Regions from separate parts of the Homo sapiens genome. Here region 1 is linked to region 2. Evidence: promoter capture Hi-C in 16 types of primary human blood cells and fetal thymus (Javierre and others, 2016). All regions are on one chromosome and are shown on one strand. Each heading gives the region's core, a stretch centred on a gene start or on the middle of the fragment in contact. The rest is flanking DNA. Distances are from core to core; before and after follow the strand shown.

Region 1 (2,700 bases), core at 30-2,529, 530 kb before region 2:
GCCACAAATATCTTTCCCTCTCTGCTATACAGCTTTTAATTTGGGTTACTTTTTGTGTTCCTTTTTCTTATTTTTATTTGGTCAAATCTGCCTCCTTTTTCTTTTAAAATTTATTCTCTTCCTTCTGAGCTTGGAAAGCCTGTTTCCCTCCTGAGAACTGATAAGTATTGAATTCTGTTTTCTTCCAGCTTTTTTATGGCTTAATATTTCATATTTAACTGCTTACCCCGTCTGGAATTTGTGGGGCTGTGGGGTGTGAAGTGAGGAGTTAATTGCCGCTTGCAGTTTACCAGGGGATGGGGCCTCATTTGCACTTCCAAGTCTCTGGGCTCAGCTTCCTCTGTCGGTGCTGAGCGGGGGAGATTAAAGGAAGCAGGGAGGTGGCATCTTGTGCGCTGGGATTGATTGTGGAGCCCTAATTACCACGGGGACAATCCTACTGGCAGCCTCTGCCTGAGTTTCAGTCCAAAGCAAAGAACTCTCGGCCGAGTTTAGCTACATCCAGTGTAACCTTGGGGAGGTCTCTGTGTATGTTTGAGACTCGGTTTCCCAGTCTGTGAAATGCGGGTACTGATGACACCTGTCCTGTAAGGGCTGTCGCCGGACTGTGTGCTGGGGGGTTTGTCCTGCAAAAAGCAAGGGGCCGGGAGGGCTCAGTACAAATCCCGGCTCTTCTGTGTGACCTTCAGCAAGAGGTGTCACTGCGGTGTGCCTTAGTTTCTCCATCTGAAAACAGGGATAATAAAGCTGGAGTTTCCACCTCCTCGTGGGGCTGGAGGATGGTTCTGCAAGTCAGCCCATGGGAGGGCCTGGCATTTGCCACAGGTGCACAACCGCTGTTGTTCTTGTTACGGCTGCCACTCAGGAGAAGGGAGCCTGCAGCCGGGCATGGTGGCCTCTGGGTGGGGGACCCTGCCAGCTGTGAGTGGGCTGGTGGGTGGGGCCACCTCCTTTTCCCAGCACCGATGGAGGCCATACTCTCCCCCTCCTCACCCCAAAACTGGGCTGTGGGGAATGGGCACCCAGAGACCCAGTCTCTTGGTCCTGATCCGGACAAAAGGACCAGCGTTGTCTGGAGAACCTACAATACACACACACAAGCACACAGACACTCACACATGCACACACAAGCACACCTGCATGCACACACACTCATGCATGTGCACACGTGCTCACACACAGCCAGACCCTCCGTAAACACATGGTGATACACACAAAGCCATGTGGGTCACTGGGTCTCGACTCCTCCCCACCCCAGGAGGCTCCACCTACAGCAGTACTAGGTGGGGGTCAGCTTGGGGTCCTGAGTGTGACCTGGGGTACGCAGTCAGATCACCCACTGCCCTTGCTTGGGAGTCCCGTCTCCCTCACTCTGAGACCCCACATCACGTCACCCCTGCGAGGTCAGTGCCAGGTCTGGGCACCCCTCCACAGCCAGGTGCCCAGCCCCCCAGTAGGGGGCAGGGACTTGAGTGGCAACGTCACCTGTCTGCTGAGGGCCTGCCTGCTGTATGCTGGGGTGTGGGCTGGGCAGGCCCCACACCAAGGGTCAGCCCTGTCCACCAGGGCTCGAGGTCAGCTTAGAGCCTCATGGAGCTCCCGGCTGGAGAGAAGGCAGCCGTGCGTGTCCCCGTCAGAATGTGGAGACGGGGACAGTGAGGATGGGCCCTGAACAGAGGAGCCAGCCTGGGTGGGTCTGCGAGAGGCTCCCAGGCAGAGGGCACAGCAAGTGCAGAGGGCAGAGGTGGAGACCTGCTGGGGTGGGGGGCGCGTACTGGAGAACAGAGGGACACCCAGTGGCCAAAGGGCAGAGCCCGCAGGAGGTAACAGCCTGAGGGCTGCAGGTCACACCCACAGGGCCAAGGGGTGGGCAGCATGGAGGTGCAGGGTGGCAGGGACCCTGGGCGGGGCGGCACAGCTGTGCGGGAGGCTGGGCTGCTGGCATCAGCAGGCGCCCCTCCTCCCCACCTCGCTAAACAATCATTGCACAAAATATGCAAATGGTATAATTACTGTTATTTGTTTTGCTGATATAAGTGTTTGAAATGCAAATGTCAAGTTTGGGCGCCTTCATTTTTCCAACCCTCTCACCCGGACATTTGCAAGTTGATGAGTTGTTCTTCATCCTGGAAGGAGGAGGAGGAGCTCCCCCCAACCGCCAGGGTGCCAGGGGAGTGAGTCCAGCGTGGCAGCCGCCACTGCCTGCCCGAGGGCACTGCTGGGCCCCCCTTCCGACGGCACACAGTGGGCACCTCAGATGGCAGGCCTCACAGCCTCACCATGCACCTGTGTGATCAGCCACTCGGAGCCTCAATTTACCCTCGCCTCTGGGGGCTGCTGTCCCTCTGGGCCCTTGCCCTTTCTGGCCCTGCCCTTTCTGGCTCATGGCAATTCAGTGGATGGCTTTGGGCCTCGGTTTCCTGTCCACAACATCCTGCACAGATTTGTTGCCCTTCTGTAAAGTAGAGTCTTAGTGTCCCGGGATGGTCCTCGGGGAGGTCTGATGAGCCCCCGAATATCACAGACAAAACTGCCTGTGTATTTTCCAGGGTGGGTTCTTAGCTTTGACCCCTCCAGCCCAGTGGTCTCTGAGGTTCCCCAGCCTGCGGTTCCAGACGAGATTGAACTGTGAGCCTTCACCCTGACAAAGGGATGGTCACGATCGTCCTTGTTCTACAGGGAGGGAAACTGAGGCACAGC
Region 2 (2,724 bases), core at 215-2,714:
CCTGTAATCCCAGCTACTCCGGAGGCTGGGACAGGAGATTTTCTTGAACCCAGGAGATGGAGGTTGCAGTGAACTGAGATCGCGCCACTGCATTCCAGCCTGGGTGCCAGAGCAAGACTCCGTTTCAAAAAATAATAATAATTAATTAAAAAAAAAATCTGGCCTCTGGGAATCAGAAACGAGGCATGCAACAGTGACAGTAAAGATGATGATCATCACAGCTGTGCTCATTTTCATTGTTTATTTCTAGTGACATTAATAAGTACTACTACTATTTTCAACTAGGTATCAGAAAGAAAGGTATCTGACATTTCCGAGCACCGAGACTTCTTGAACTTCAGTTTCCTCATCTGTAAACTCATGACAGTGAAATCTACTTGCAAAGTTGTGGGGAACGGGGCCAATATCCCTCAAGTCTTCCACCGCTAGATGATGGGAATACGGCTGCAGGTTGACCAGCACTATATTTGTAAGCTCAGTCTCAACAGGGTGGTGAATTAGGTCTTTTTACACAGATTCTAGAGATGATGAAACCGAAGCTTCAAAAAGTTACAGAACGGAGATTGGAACTTGGGTCTGTCTGGCTTTGGAAGGCTGAAGACAAACCGCAGTAAAGAACTTTGCACCCCCAACACCGGCGCTTACTATGGGCTCATGGCAGGCCGGCCCACCAGCCACAACTAGGGAACAGCCAAGCGCGTTTAAAAGCCAAAGGTAGAACTTCTGCAGCTGCACAGTTTCTGAGTTTCCATTTAACAAGAACCTTGGCCTGGTGCAAGCAGAGGCCTGAGCTCCCCAGGCTGCCAGCCCCGCAGAGGCAGGCCCGCCTGGAAGGAGGCTCCACAGCCCAATTCCTCCATTGCCCAAACGAGATCAGGGTGGCCCTTGCCATCCCCGAGGGGAAACCGGGCCCACACGCCCCCTTCCTGAGAGCGGACCGGCGCGAGCCACCAGGATGCCAAGAGCCCCTGCAGCCCCGACTTCTCCACCAGGCGCCAGCTCAGGCCCCTTCCTCGGCGCGCCGGCACCCTAGCCCGGGGACCCACACGGTAGGCAGCGGGACCCCGGGGCTGGGACCACGAGCACGCGCCCCTCGGCCGCCCGCCCTGGCACAAGGGACGGCTGCGGAGACCCAGGCGAGGGGCCCGCTGTCCCCAGCACAGCCCAAAGGGGGAGTGGGGACAGGGGAGTGGGGAGAGGAGGGGAGAGCACAGAGAGGAGAGCGCGCCCATGGGAGACGGGGCGGGCGCGGGGTCCTGAGGCACGGGGTCTGGGTCGTTGTGCCCCACCCTGGCGAGCACACCCGGTCCGGGCCCTCGGCCCCTCCCTTGCCATTCCCGGGACCCCCGGGACCCCGGGACCCCGCCGCCCGCGCGAGCCGGGCCGCTTACCTCAGCCGCTCGCAGCCAGCTTGCCGCCGCCGCTCGGATCTCCCTCCGCTCCGCCGGCGCCCATTTATCGCGACACTTGCGCCTGCGCTCTCGCGAGACCTGCGTGGCAATCGGGCCGTAAAGAACCGAGTCTGCGCACCGGCTGATCCTGGGGACTCCGCGTCCGCACCCGGAGCCGCCACCCCTGGGAGACTCCGCACGGAAAGGACTCGGAACCGAAGGCTGAGCCAAGGCGCAGTCGGGGGCCCCCCGGCTTTGCGCAGGACGCGCTTCCACTAAGGCTTTCGCCTCGCGCCGTAATGTGTGGAATAGCCGCGCCCACGGCAGCCTCCTCGGACAAACTTGCACCGTTGACTCTTCCCAAAATTTTGCTACTCAGTATCAGCTTGAATCAATCCGTTATTTTGCTTTTTTCTGGGCCCACTAGAAATGCAATTTATGCTACTAGGCTACCTTCCCAGTGCTCTGCAAGCCAGGGCACAGCATCCAATGGGGTGAGGTCAGGCCCCACCATTATTATGGTAACCTTTGTCTATCCTTCAAATTGGAGCCTTCCTGAGAAGAGTGTGCCTTACTCGTTTCCATATTCTCTTCCTCTCCTCCTCCCGTCTCTGCCCAGCCCCTGGCTTCCCTCTAAGAAGATGCTGTTCCTAAGGGTCTGCAATGAATTTTCCTTCTTTCAGAGAAAGACTTCCAAGTTGTGTGCCCCGGGAATGAAATGGAATAAGAGAACGAGGTGGAGTAGGGCAAGAGTCCCTGGACTTAACAACCTGACTGCAACCAGAAATAAAATGAAAAGTCAAAACATCTGGCGGCCGGGCGCGGTGGCTCACGCCTGTAATCCCAGCACTTTGGGAGGCCGAGGCAGGCGGATCACGAGGTCAGGAGATCGAGACCATCCTGGCTAACACGGTGAAACCCCGTCTCTACTGAAAATACAAAAAAAAAAAAAAAAAATAGCCGGGCGTGGTGATGGGCGCCTGTAGTCCCAGCTACTCGGGAGGCTGAGGCCGAATGGCGTGAACCCGGGAAGTGGAGCTTACAGTGAGCCAAGATCACTTCACTGCACTCCAGCCTGGGTGACAGAGTGAGATTCTGTTTCTCAAAGAAAAAAAAAAATCAAAACATCTGACCCGCAGTTTCCTTCGGGGAGCTGGACAGAGCCCCAGATTCCTGATGGAGATTCCTGGGTTTCCAGACTTCCCCCACTGGTCCTTGGAATTTAATCATAGTCAACAAACTCTTCTTGAGGGATGAGTACACCTCCAGGAAATGGCTTTGAGGAAGCCAGTTTAAAAAAAACAAAACTTCAAAGCATGAAAGTACCTTAAAA

Evidence for each region. The method cuts DNA at HindIII sites, captures the fragments that hold promoters and counts their contacts. A CHiCAGO score of 5 or more calls a contact.
Region 1: a fragment that was not itself captured here is called in contact with the fragment with the promoter of MAD1L1 in region 2 in 1 of 17 cell types (M2 macrophages); the score reaches 5.6 in M2 macrophages.

Annotation. Positions count from the first base shown.
Region 1 is chr7:1,703,305-1,706,004 of GRCh38, forward strand. All of the region lies in intron 2 of ELFN1 (extracellular leucine rich repeat and fibronectin type III domain containing 1), which reads left to right. Among named protein-coding and RNA genes, the nearest start is that of LNCRI, 10 kb to the left of the region's middle. RefSeq lists enhancers at 1,515-2,224, 2,225-2,700. The HindIII fragment of the contact is 7,510 bases long and covers 1-2,700 here.
Region 2 is chr7:2,231,481-2,234,204 of GRCh38, forward strand. MAD1L1 (mitotic arrest deficient 1 like 1) reads right to left here and starts at 1,465. Exons shown (of 19, transcript NM_001013836.2): 1 at 1,392-1,465. It overlaps MRM2 (mitochondrial rRNA methyltransferase 2), which reads right to left. Exons shown (of 3, transcript NM_013393.3): 3 at 2,715-2,724. RefSeq lists silencers at 964-1,383, 1,361-1,739 and enhancers at 1,374-1,668, 1,454-1,583, 2,318-2,724. The HindIII fragment of the contact is 9,650 bases long and covers 538-2,724 here.